Regions from separate parts of the Homo sapiens genome. Here region 2 is linked to region 1. The links are contacts of gene promoters, found by promoter capture Hi-C in human tissues and cell types (Jung and others, 2019). All regions are on one chromosome and are shown on one strand. Each heading gives the region's core, a stretch centred on a gene start or on the middle of the fragment in contact. The rest is flanking DNA. Distances are from core to core; before and after follow the strand shown. Region 1 holds the start of MYCN (MYCN proto-oncogene, bHLH transcription factor). Region 2 has its middle 110 kb from the start of LINC01804.

Region 1 (6,744 bases), core at 1,638-4,137:
GAAAGGTACCGACATTTGAAAAAAAAAAAAAAAGAAAAAGAAAAAGAATAGAAAATCGGCTCTAGCCATCTGTGCAACCCTCCTATAAGTTCCTGCGCCTTAAACAGGGCTTTGCACAGCCCTTGAATCTTCTCGGGATGTCTTTCCCTCCCCTGACCTGGGCCAGAGAGTCCCTTTCACCCCTGCGCTAACAGGTTTCTGTCCAGGCAGTGCACCCAGCAACCCCCTAAACCCCCACCCGGTTTAGCCACCAACTTTCTCCAATTTTATTCCTCAGACTGCGCTGCAAAAGAGAGGTGGGGGACCGGGTGAGGGCCCGTGATGGCCTAGAGGAGGGCTCCCCAGGAGAGGGTGGAAGGAACTTTAGTGAAGGCGAGAATTGGAGAGCACCCCTTTTGCAACGGCATTCTCTCAGCCCCTTCTCTTTACCCCGAGGAGAGACTTGGGGGAAACAGGACCTCTCTGCCCCTAGCACTGCCTCCAAAATGCTCCCCAGGCCAAGACATACGAGCACTAACAAAGGGGACGCGACCCGGGGTCCAGTGCCCCAGGGAGGCAGCCGGACCCGAGTTCGGTCTTTACCTGAATCGCTCAGGGTGTCCTCTCCGGAGGTACTGAGGGCCTTGTGGTCGCCGCCGCTGGTCTGGCGGCCGCCTGGGCGCGGAGGGGCGACCCCCGGGGCCCCGGCTGGGGCGGCAATACCCGCCCCCGAGGCGACCGCAGGGCCCGCCGCCGGGGCACTGGCCGGGGCTGCGGGCACGGGCGCTGGCTCGCGCTTGTTCACGGGAAAGGGGAAGACCACGGCGGGATCCACGCACTCGGCGGCCGGGTGGGCGAGCTCGGCGGGCAGGGCGGCCCCGGCGCGGCCGGCTCCCGCAGCCCCGCCGTGCCCGCGACCCGCAGGGCTGGCGGCGCCGGCTCCCGGGGACTGGGCGGTGGAACCGGCGGTTGGCGGCCCGCGGCCGTGCTGCAGCTTCTCGCTCACGGCGCGCTCCAGCTTCTCGCGGGCGGAGAAGCCGCTCCACATGCAGTCCTGGAGGATGACCGGGTTGGGGGTGAGGCCACCCAGTCCCCCCAGGCCGAACGCGTCCTCCTCGGCCGGGCTGCCCCACAGCTCGTTCTCAAGCAGCATCTCCGTGACCCAGCTCGGGGGCTCGGAGCTGTGCTCCGCGAAGCCACGGCTGGGCGACAGCGGGGGCGTGGGCAGCAGCTCAAACTTCTTCCAGATGTCCTCCCCCGGGGGGGTCGAGTCGGGGCCGCCGAAGTAGAAGTCATCTTCGTCCGGGTAGAAGCAGGGCTGTAGCGAGTCAAACTCGAGGTCTGGGTTCTTGCAGATCATGCCCGGCATGGTGGACGTGGAGCAGCTCGGCATCGGCTCGCCTCCCGGCCGGCGACTGAGGGCTTCTTTCCGCCCCGTTCGTTTTAATACCGGGGGTGCTTCCTTCCCGTGGGGGGCGCGGAAGGCGGGGGCCGGCGCCGACCTCCAACACTGCAACCGACAGACACACCGGAGAGGGTGGGCAAACGGGGCAGACCGAGGGGATAGGCAATGGGCGCCCCCTCTAACCAGGTTCCCCAATCTTCCCTCCAAGCCCCCCACTCTGCCCACTGCTCCCGAAGGTGGAGGAAGTTGTGCCTCTCGCTCCCTCCCTCCCGCCCTCCTTTTGTGTACAAGCTGTCTACGACAGGGGGTGGGAGGGGGCATGCAGATGCAGGGGGTGGTGGCGAGGCTCCGCAACTTTGGAAACTGCCATTTCATTCACACAAGGCACTGCCTGGGGGAGGGGGCTGTTCCTGGCTGCAGAATTCTAGCTCTCACGAGCACGCAGACAACCGCACTCGCAGCGGTGTGGGGCCGGCTGCTCAGGGGAAGCCCCAGGCTCTCCGACCCAGCTACCGGGAATGGTATTTGGAGTACCTTCTACCCCCTTTGTAAAAATGCAACCTCAGGAGTGCAAATGATAGCAGGGGATTTAGAAAACTTTGCAAATAAAAAAAAGCCTTTCTCTAGACAGAGACCAACAACAGACACCCATATCCACAAATCCTTCCCCTCCCCAAATTTGAGCAAACGCCCCTCGGCATTCACCCGCTGCAGGGATACTCCTGCCAATAGCTTAATTGGAAGCTCTCTAAGCCCACCCCTGCTCTTCCAAACCCACGACAACGTCCTCTTCCAGGGAGGGAGAGGCTGAGCCCCTGTTCCCGGGAATGGCAGGGGCGCCCGCGCGAGGAGGGTCGCCGGGAGAGCCGCCTCTCCTCCAAGCTGGAGCAGCCGTGACCCAGATTGCGACCGCGGCGGCCTCGCCCTGCCTAATCCCCCCCTCTTCTTCCTCCAGGGGCACCCTTTGGAGAAGAACCCCAGCCTGGGGTGGGGACGCACCGGCTCTCCGACAGCTCAAACACAGACAGATCTTCTAGAGCCGAGGGAATTTCTTTTCGCAGAAGCCATTACTCCCCCCGGTAAGGGCTGCAAAAGGATTAGGGCGGGTCTCCTCTAGCCAGGATGCCTTCGGGGCTGGAACTGGCTTTTCTGGGAAAACCCAGAGATGGTTTTGTTTCGGAAGCAGAAACAGTCCCCCGGGCATATTAGGGCGCCCGGTGCGCACGTCGCAATCCCGTCCAGGGCTTGCCTTGCCCCGGCGCTCGTCGCTTCCCTGGGCGCCGGGCGGTTTGCAAGCCCTGCTCCTTACCTCCCGCCGACTGCAGGGGATCCGGAGGCGATTCTGCGCGGGTGTCTCCGGGTGGGCCGGGGGGGCGGGGGTGTCCTCGGATGGCTACAGTCTGTGCGCGCTTGCGCCTGGCTAGCGCTTGCTCGGCTCCAACACAGTTCCCAGGAGCCCCCCGCATCCACCCAGCGCGTCCAGACAGATGACTGTCACAGCCTGCGCTTTGAAGCTCGGGGGATATTATTAACTGAAAAATCTGACACACCCGGGGGGCGGGGAGAGAAGGGGGCTGTGGCGCAGACAAGGGGGAGGGAGAAAGGAGAGGAAAGCGGCTTTACCCCGCCCTCCTGATTTCCATAAAAATCAGGGGAGGCGCCAAGGCTTTCGCGCCAAAAGCCACTTGCTTTTCTTTGCAGAGAGAAGGCTGCAAAGCTGGGAAGCCCAGGGTGTGCTCCTCCCGCCCTTTTGGACCCCCGGGCTTGCACCGGCTGCACTCTGAGAACCAGCTGCGCGCGGAGCGGTGCAATGCAGCACCCACCCTGCGAGCCTGGCAATTGCTTGTCATTAAAAGAAAAAAAAATTACGGAGGGCTCCGGGGGTGTGTGTTGGGGAGGGGAGACCGATGCTTCTAACCCAGCCCCCGCTTTGACTGCGTGTTGTGCAGCTGAGCGCGAGGCCAACGTTGAGCAAGGCCTTGCAGGGAGGTTGCTCCTGTGTAATTACGAAAGAAGGCTAGTCCGAAGGTGCAAAATAGCAGGGAGAGGACGCGCCCCCTTAGGAACAAGACCTCTGGATGTTTCCAGTTTCAAATTGAAAGAAGAGGGGCGCCCCCCTTGTTTGAAAATAAATAAATAAATAAGTGCGAGCTACGAGGGTGGCGCCGCGGTGGTTTCTTCGGCCGAAGGCGACACCTCGCGGAGACTGAGCAGAAAGCGGAGCTGCCCGGCCTTGGCGCGGACCTGGAGTGCGGCCACTCCGCAGGTCTCCCGCCGCCCCCGCGGGACTGTCCACGCGTCCTCACCACTGCGGAGGAGGAGGCGGCCTGGCTCTGCTTCCTAGGGGGAATGGGCGTACGTTCCCTGCAGCCGTCCCCAGGGCTCCCAAGTTAACCTTTTCAAAGCCACCATTCTCCCCAGTTATGGGCAGGCGAATCTGATTTACCGAGATGGAAGTGCTGTCCACACCTCCTGAGACCCAGCCTCGGCTCAAACAGCTTGATTCCAAACTGTTGAAGGGAAAAAGGAAAGCTGCTGTCACTACTTCGTTTCTTTGTGCCTCAGTTTCCTCAATTGTGAAATGGAGTTCGTAGTGCCTCCTACCTGAGAGTTATGAAAGCTCTTATAAGTCCCCAGCCCATAATAGTTGTGTCAGCTATTATTATGATGATGACCACGACATGCTATTCTTCTGGGGAAAATAACACCCCTCTGTCCAGCAGCAGCATTGGCCCCTTCCCTTCCCGCCACCATCAAATCCTGGCTTTACTTCACTCTGGTCTAGCTTTTCTTACAGGTGTATTTGTTTGCAGGGGGTCAGACATTATTGCCCCTGCCCTCCAAACTCTCCAAAAACAACCCTGATCTCCTGGACAGCCCCCTTCACAACCAAATACACAGTGAGGTGGGATTTTGCCTTGAAAAACATTCCTTAGGCTTGTTTGGAGAGAGGGGAACCTGGCCCTGGGATTGGGGTGGGAAGGCTTCCCCGCCTCTCCCTACTTTTTTCTCCAAACTGGAAATGCCATTCTCCATCGCCCCCACCTCTTCACCTCACCATTGGATCTAGTTAAGGAGGAGGATGCTGAGGGTCAGGGGGCAACCCATAAAATGCTCACAGATTAGCATTTGTGAAGGCCTTTCCAGCCCTGACCCTGGACGCCTACAGAGCTCTAGGGAGAAAGATTCCCAGAGTTCTAGGAAGAGGCCCATGAATGCGGATGAGCAGCCCTTCCAAGCACCTTTATTATTGTTATTTCCCTCACAAATGTAAAAGCCTTCATCTTTGCAAAAGCCTTTTACAGCCCCACTTCTGCTTTTCCCTAGCCCCCTAATCGCCACCAAGCCCTCCTGCTGAATTCTCGCCTAGCATCCTGTCCTTTCCTGTCCAGCACTCACCTCCATTTGTAATGATCCATGCCTGGGAGTATTTGTTTAGTGCTCACTTCCGTGACACTGTGGAAGACAGGCTCAGTCTCCCTCACTAACCTGTGACCTGGGTCAGTTTTGCTCCAGAGGGAATCCTTACGGCACAGCAGTGTACCTGTATATAGTAAGTACTCATGGTATTATTCAAGACCAAGATCACTGAATGAGTCCTTCTAAGGTGGCCAGATCTTCTGTGGCAAGACTGTGAAAATAGGCCAGGATGGGTTCAGTTGCTCCGATTCAAAGTCCTACCTTTGTCCTTTCTCCTCAGATGAATGACCATCACTAGGTCATTCACCCTTTGTCGAGGGACAAGGTGTAGCAGAAAAGGGGGACAGAGGGACAGGAGACCTGGTTACTCTACATGCCTTTGAGCAAATCATTTATACTTCCTGGACCTCAATCTCTAATCTCCTGCTTTTAATGCAAGCCAGTAATTACTGACAAGTCTGAATCTGAAGGTTAACAGAATGATAAAATTCAACAAATATTTATTGGTTACCTTCATTTGTAAGTAGAAAGATAAAAGACTTTGTACATGGAGAAAACATGCTAATGCTGATTCTTAGTCTGCTTATAGAGAAGCCTGAAAATCCCTCTTAAAAATGTTGAAATACTTCAACTATGTGAACACACACAAAACAAATCTTCATATGGTTTCAAAGCCAAGGTTTTGTTCAGTACTGCCATGGTTTGAATGTGTCCTCCAAAAAAAAACACGTTGGAAGTTTAACCCCCAGTGCAACAGTGTTGGAGGGGAGGTCCCCAAATGCCAGTGGGACCTAGACCCCAGCCAGTGTCCAGGCTCTTGACACCATCAAGAGAATGAATTCAAAGACCAGTTGGAAAATAGTGAAAGTACGATTTATTGCAAAGGGAAAAGTACACACTCAAGAAAAGGGAATATGGGTGTACTCGAGAGACTCACACGAAAGGGGGTTTGGGGTTGCTACCTTTACGGGTTTCTTTAACCAAGAGGCAGAATATTCATGATCATTCCTAGAAAAAGAAGGAGATTTCTCAGAACTGTGACACCACCTATTTTTAAACCAAATATGGGTGTTCTCGGAAGTGTCATGATGCTAGTGGGGTGTGTGATTTAGTATGTTAATGAGCGTATAATGAGGTCCTAGGAGAAACCTAGGTCAAATCCAGTGCCATGCTGGGTTCAGTGGGTCTTAGCCAGCTTGGTCTACACTCTGTTTTTCACGGTCTTAGCCCATGGCCTCTGCAGCCATTTCAACAGTTTCCTTTTGCTAGTCATGTGAAATTGCTGCCCAAAATCTTCTATTATTCTGCAGCCACCTTATATTATTCCTGTCTCAGGACCTAATGTGAGGTGTTTAGGTCATGAGGGCTCCACTCTTGTGAATGGATTAATGCTAATTATAAAAGGGCTTGAGGCTAGGAGTTTGATCTCTTGCCCTCTCTTCCTTTTTCCTGCCAGGGGATGGTACGCCATGAAGGCCCTCAGCAATTGCTGGCACCTTGATATTGGACTTCTCAGCCTCCAGAAACATGAGAAATACATTTCTTTTCTTTATAAATTACCCAGTCTGTGCTATTAGGTTATAGCAACACAAAATGAACTGAGACAAGTACCCATCTATTACTGTGTCTGAGCCCCTGGGTGGGTTTGGAACAGAGGTAAGTTAAGGTACAGCCGCAAGGAGCTCACTGTGGACCAGGGAAGGAGACCCACATCTGAAATGGATGCCTCAATCTAATCACCAACTGCTAGGATAGAGTTATACACAGCATTTGGTTTATAATTAAGGTGATTTTTGAGAGAGGAGAATATTTTAGTTTACAAATCTCCTCTTTACTAAGACACACACACACAAAGAAACAACACACACATACACATGTTGAGAAGGGCCCAAATCATGACTGGCTAGGAGAGCAACAGCCTCTAGATGGTTTTTCCAGAT
Region 2 (6,752 bases), core at 2,439-4,938, 140 kb after region 1:
GATACTGGAAGAGAAATGGCTGTGCACGTGGTAGGTCTATCGAAACGCTAAGGGGACTTCATAATCATTTGCACGTTGTCATAAAGGTTTTGAGAACCGATTATGTCAGCGATACAAGCCTAGGTCTGAATCGCTTGCATTTGTGCCTATACTGTGTGCATGAGTGTGTGTGCACACAGATTTTTCTGTTCTGGAGAGAGTCTGGGCCATCAAGCGTTTGAAGGTTCAAATCCTTCATACCCCGGCAGCGTTGCTGACTGCACCTCCACTGGGGAGCAAAGGTGGGGCAGCCATCCCTAGGATCTTGGTTTCTAGCAGACCGAGGATGGAGGCTGCGTGCTCAGATTCCTGGGCCTCTCCTCCTGGGCATCTTCCTTCCTGTTCCTCCTCGTGGCTGACTCCTGGCCTGTGGCCGCCATCCCCACCAGCTGGCTCATTTGCATGTGGCCCCAGTGGGTTCCTGTGCCCACACAATGAAGTGGCTGTACCCATGCTTCTGCCCCTGGGTCCTAGCCAGGCCTGCACTCACACTGTGGGCTCCATTCATTCCAAAGGACACACAGTCCCCAGCCGCCGGGGCCCACCAAGGCTTGGAGAGACCCAGGGCCCAGTCTCACCCTGGAGGCGGCTGAAGGCCTGGGTCTTGCGTCATCAAACATTGCTCACATTCCGGGGGGAGGAGAGGAGACAAGGCTTCCTCAACACTGGTCCGCTCCAGGCCCAGCCTAGCTTCTGAACTCTTGTATTTTGCTTGTACCACCCTGCACTGGCCAACTTCCTTCTGCCAGGTTTTGCTCTCTTCGGAGCTGGCGTACACAGTTGTGTGACAGGGTTTGAGTCCCACATCGGCTGCTTACCCACTGTGTGACTTTAGCCAAATTGCATCAACTCCTTTCAGAACCTTCATTCCCCATTTGTAAAATGAGGGTATTAATTTCTGTCTCTCAGGATCGTTGTAAAAATGAAATGAAATGTGCAAAGCGTCACCGTCCCTTTTACTGAGTGGGTGTTGATAAAGGATTGTGTCATTGAAATAAAGGTGTGACCTCGGCAAAGCATGTTATCTCTTGGGGCCTGCTATTCACCTGGGATGGGGGTGAACCCCAGTACTCAGGGACACGGTAGGAACCGGCTGGAGGTAAAAACACTTTATACACCTGAAGTCCCATCTGGGCATGGTGTTAGATCCTCTGGAATATCAAGTCATTACCGAAATGATTGCAAAGCCCTTGGCATTCGCTATACTTGGGTGAATATTCACTATACTGGGGTGGGTGTGGGGTGTGGGGTGTGGGGACAGGGCTGTGCCTGAAGCCAGAGACCATGCCGGACATACATGGTGTAGACTTCTGGAATTCTAATAGTCCCATCTGGTGGGTCGTCCCCTCACAGTGTAACCTCCCGGGTTCATTGAACCCATGCAGTTCCTCTCGTGCATGTGCCTCTGACTCTGACTGCATGCGCTGACATCACGGGAGCAGTATGCTGACCTGGGGGAGCAGGGATTTTGGTGCCAGAAAAATTGGATAATATGCGATGGCCTGACTTCACTCTCCCCTATGTCCATCCTCTTGGGATGCTCCTGGGCTTGCCCTGTAGGCTGTGTTCCCTGTGGCTCATGTACAAGAAGGATCAGGCCAGGGTCCCAGGGTCCCCAGGCACCTGCCCTCTCCCCTGCGCTGCCTTCCTGTCCAGGAAGCAGCCGGGACTTCCTGGTGTGAGGCCTGAGGACCTATTGGCCTGCAGAGCCCTTCAAAGATCTCTCAGCACTGCCTCACTCGCCTCATTCCCAGCTAGTCCCAGGACAACCCCGGGAGCAGGGAGGGCACTTGGGGTGTTGGGGAATATGCTGAGTTGGAACTCAAAACACCCTGGGTTTGAGGTCTGGCTTTGCCACTTGTGGGATCTGTGACTCTGGCCTTCGATTTCTCCCCTGTCACAGTGACCCAATTGGGAACCAGGTTGCTGCAAGGACAAATGCCAAGCACTTAGCACTGGCTGAGTGTTCCCTAGATAGAAAAGGGTACGTGAATCTACTGGTTGTATTTGTCTCTGCACATCTGGTGCCTGGCACAGCACCCGATAGTCATAGCTACAGTTGTGTTTAGATTTGCATCAGCTGAGCACCTGTTTCAGGCTCTGCTAGAGACTACCTCAAGGATGAGTCACCTGTTTCTAGGGTGCTTCCAGACCAGTAGGAGCAAGAGGGTGACTTGTGCTTGTACCTCTGACCATGAAGCAAAACAGACCCAGACCCAGAGCCCTGCACTGAGAGAGGGTGGCACCAGGTGCTCTGTGGGAGGGGGCTGGAGGGACCACAGGGTCAGAGAGGGAGGAACGCACGGAAGAAGAAAGTTTGGGACCTCTAGGATGCAAAGGAATTGTCCAGGCTGAGCCAGAGGAAGGGCAGTGGATCCATTACAGCACCTGCTCTCTGTGCCTGGGCATAGGCCCCTCCTCTGTCTAGAATGTCTGTCTTCTCCCTTAATCACCAGCAATCATAGCTCATCCTCCAAGCCTTAGTTCAGGCACTTTTCTCCCTCTGAGCCTTCAGCTAGCCTTGGAGGCTCCATCTTATCCTGGAAGTCCTTCTGCTGTCACACTCATGATCCTGCATTGTATCCGTTTTCTTTCTCCTCTTTCTTTTCAGAGATGAGTATCCTTAGGACTGGATGCCTGGAAAGGACCCTTAAAACCTCTCAAGGGGTTCCATCCAAGTAGGATATGGGGACTGAGTGACTCAGAGATAAGAAAGCCAGGTGGCGATTTCAGTGCTAGGGCCAGGCTGTGGCCAACTGCATGCAGGCTGGTTGAGTTCATTCACTGATAGTGGGAGATGAGGCCAGAAGGAAATATTAGGGCCAGATGGTGAGGAGCTTAAAGTTCAAGCCTGGAAGTTGGGATTTTTTCCCAGAAGCATCGGAATCAGCTTAGTTTCTTTTACAAATATTCATCTACCATGACTAGCTGAGGCCAGTGGCACTTGGCTGAGATGTCTCAGGGATTCCTCTGGCATTTCCTTCCTCCCTCCTTCCCTTCCTCCTTTCTTCTCTTTTTCCCTTCTGTCCTTCCTTTCAACCTTCCTCCATATCTTACTTTCTTCCACCAATATTTATTGAATGACTAAGTAAGTGCCATCCATTCACAGGTTAACCAGATAAAAACTTTGTCCTCAAAAGCTCACAATGTTATGGAGAAAATGGACACAGAAACAAGGAAGGCAGTGTGCTAAATCCCACCCACCTCTTTGATGGAAACGGTCCACTCCTAGTCCAGCTCCGCTTCACAGTTAGTGTCTTCCGGAGCCAAAATCAGCTATTTTTCTGGCATGACCACATCTCTGAGCCTGGCCCATCTTTGGAGACCAGATTACTGGACAATTTGTTTATATTTACTTGGGACCCCTTGGCCCTCAGGGGCAACTCTGAGGACCCCCACATTCCCTAGATGGCTGCATTCCCGTGGGCAGGTGGTGACGGCGTACACATGTCCTGTGCTGCTGCCCTGCATCCCCAGCCAGACTGTAATATTGCCCAGGGATTTGGGAATCAGATATGTTGGGACCTCAGATTCCCTCCTGCACTCACCCTCTGCCTGGCCTGGAGCAATCAAGGAAGGCTTCCTGAAGGAGGTGCTGTTGAAGCTGATACCTGGGCAATGGTTGATGCTTTGCTCTGGTGGTTGAGGGAAAAAGAAATGAGGTGAAGGAAATCACATTAATCATGTGGAAACTGGGTATTATCATTGCTGCGGCCTCCACGGATGCATATTTGGTGAGGGAATGTGAGAGAGCTGGGAGGTAAGAGGTGGTTACAAAGCGATTCTTTTCCTAAGGCAGTCACCCACAGAATTGTGACTCTAGGAGAGCAAAGGCAGGAGAGACCCCTGGTGGCTGGGGCAGTCAAGGAAGGCTTCCTGGGGGAGAAAGCCCAGGCAGGGGAGGAGAACGCTGGCCAGGCATTGGTGAGCAGTGAGGAGCATGGCACAGGGTCTGCGCTCACCCAGGGATGAAGTTCAGCCTCTCCTCGTCGCTCGCTTTGTAGTCCCGGGTCTGTGGTTTCCTAATTTATTTGGCTTGAAATTTGTGTCAAACTTTTTTTCCAGGTGTAATTGAAACCAAACCTCTAAATGCTTGTTCATTCCTGAGGGAAATTAAAGGTGATTTCAAGCAGGAAGATCACAGATTTTAGAAAAGGGGTCTGGCAGGCAGGGGCAGGGGTGGATTCTGGACTGGAAGGCTCAGCTGTGGGAGCCCCATCTGATTAGATTAGCTGCTGCTGATTATGCTTTCCGGAGAGGGGGTGCTGCCTGGGAGATGCCCGCCCTTGTTGGGGATGAGGAGGTTTGCCAGCTGCAGGGCCTGGTGCGGACCTGGAGGTCTGGGGAGGTCTCTTGCCCCATGGCCCCTTGCCCAGGAAAGGCCAAGGTGAGGAGAGGGCCAAGGTGGGGTCAGGGAGTGGACGAATCCCCCAGCTCAAACCCACCCTCCTCAGAAAACCTCTCTGTCCTGGAGGGTAGCTAATGGGGAGACTCGGGGGAAAGTTCCCCTGCCCCCCACACTCAGAGGCTGTGTGACCTCAGGCAAGTCACACAGCCTCCCTAAAGCTTTCTGCAACTCAGTTCCTGCATCTGTACAAACGGAACGGAAAGATGACCCTAGAGTGGCAGCCAGGATTAAATTAAATGAGATGGCGCCTGTGAAACCCTCCAAGCCTGTGTCATCATGGGCACCTACAGATATCTAAGGTGGACACTAAGGTGGCGTCCCAGCGGTCGAGGGAAACAGCCAGGGGTTAATAGCGACTTAACCAAGATACACATTTTCCTCAAGGAGTAAGGATGGGCCTCATGGGTGCCTTAGAAACAAAAGCCATTTTTATCTCACTTTCCTCCTGCCCATAAACAGATATTTGAAAAGTTTGCCATGTAAGCTTTAATTCCTGCTCACCCAGAAATATTTTAAAAGGGTGCAAACTTTTCTATGGGTTGAGCACTCTGCTAACCACATTCCATGCATTTAAGCACTGAATCCAACGAAAGATAGGAAGTAGGTATTACGCTTCCATTTTACAGGGGAGAACATTAAGATTCAGAAAAGCTGTGTAAATCTGTCCCCGGGCCTGGGGCTGGGACATGCTGAGCCTGGGTAAATCTAACTGCAAAGGGCCCATTCTCCGACTCTCTTTTTACACCCAGCTCAAAGCCTCTTCTCTGAAAACCTGCTTGGTGTGAGACAGGCTCCGGACCCTGAACAGCTCTGTGAGGGCAGCAGTGTAATGCACACCCTACAGAGATACTCAAGCCCAGACTCCGTATGAGAGAGGTGCTTCCGACCCACTCCTGTTGACCTGCTCCTCCCCTGTCCCCTCCTGGATCTCAGCTTTCCTGGCCACCAGCTGCCCTACTCCTCATTCCCCATCCTCTCTCCTGCCTCAGGGTTGCAATTGACTCCCACCTGCCCAACGGCCTCCACTCATGTGCCCACCCAGCAAGGCTGTCTCAGGTGGTCTTGGGTGGCACCTATTTCCACCCAACCCCCAACACCCTCCTTCACAAGCACCACCCAGAGGACAGGTGGTTCCACACTCTGATCATCCCCCAGCCCTCCAGTCTGGACCAGATGCTGATTTCTCATATCTGAAGTACCATCATATGGTTTAGGGATTTGTTCTGTGTCTCTAAGGCAGAGTCTGGAAGCTTTGGGGAGGATTCCAGCTTATCACCAAGAAGGCGTTTCAGGAGTCTGGGGGCTTGGACAAGAGATTGACTTCCTCAGGAAGAAGTGAGCCTCCTGCTCCTGGAAGAGTGGGAGCAGAAACTGGACAGTCCCTCGGCAAAACAGCCAAGAGGATCTGGGATTGAGCTATGGGATCACACTGGCTGCCCCCTGAGGAAACTTTACGTCTTTAAGAAAACTCTGTCCCACCTAGGACACCACCAAAACGTAGTCTTGCACTTGCTCCTGGCCTGAAGCCCACGTCGGAATGCGCTTCAGAGGCTTTTCCTAGCAGCCACTACTTACGCCTGCTGGAACTCCCTCTTGAACCCAAGCTCTTCTCTCTTCCTGGCTGTGGCCAGGCCAGGTGGACATATTCTGTAACCAAACACTCAGGCTGCTAATGTCATCCAGATGTTCCCCGCTGGCTGCAGCCAGGGCCTGGCTCCCGGTCAACAGGATGTGCCGCCGCTCAATGTCAGGGTTTCTCCTCTAAGGAAAAGCTTCATCTGTCAAGCAAATGAATATGAACTTACTCTGAAACTAAACTGAAGCTTCCCACTTTTCCCCCACAGCCATGAGTGCCCAGGAGGGCACCTCCAGCGTGGCATCACGACCTGAGTCAAGTGCCTCATCTCTGCGTTTTCTTCCTGTGTGGCCTTGGCCAGGCTGCTTAATCCCACTGAGCTCTACTTCCTCTTCATCCAAAGGAAGGTTAAATGGTCTAACATAGGGCTGCTCACACTGTAGGTGTGTTTGAGTCTCCTGGGGGTGGGGGTGGGGGGCTTTGTTAACATGCAGAGCCAGATTTAGCAGGTCTAGGGTGTGGCCTTTCTAACAAGCTCCCAGGTGATACTCCTGCTGCTGGTCAGTGAGCAGTGAGGCTTGGACAGACAAGAAAGGCAGGAGAGGGGAGTGCAGGGGCTCAGGACTCAGGCTCCGGCAGAGAGCACCTAGATTGGAATCCCACTGTGCCTACTTACTGGCTGTGTGACCTTGGAGAAACTCATTCGACTTACCATGCCTCAGTTTCCCC

What was found. The method cuts DNA at HindIII sites, captures the fragments that hold promoters and counts their contacts. A contact is called where the count stands out against the background at its distance.
Region 2: a contact is called between a fragment that was not itself captured here and the fragment with the promoter of MYCN in region 1, in 1 of the 25 tissues and cell types used here (heart left ventricle).

Annotation. Positions count from the first base shown.
Region 1 is chr2:15,936,693-15,943,436 of GRCh38, reverse strand. It overlaps MYCN (MYCN proto-oncogene, bHLH transcription factor), which reads right to left and starts at 2,887. Exons shown (of 3, transcript NM_005378.6): 1 at 2,694-2,887; 2 at 583-1,489. The coding sequence starts at 1,372. MYCNOS (MYCN opposite strand) reads left to right here and starts at 1,752. Exons shown (of 4, transcript NR_110230.2): 1 at 1,752-1,905; 2 at 2,340-2,463; 3 at 4,712-4,937; 4 at 6,261-6,744. RefSeq lists enhancers at 2,759-3,289, 4,334-4,891. The HindIII fragment of the contact is 20,661 bases long and covers 1-6,744 here.
Region 2 is chr2:15,794,969-15,801,720 of GRCh38, reverse strand. No RefSeq gene overlaps it. Among named protein-coding and RNA genes, the nearest start is that of LINC01804, 110 kb to the right of the region's middle. RefSeq lists an enhancer at 125-972. The HindIII fragment of the contact is 7,599 bases long and covers 1-6,752 here.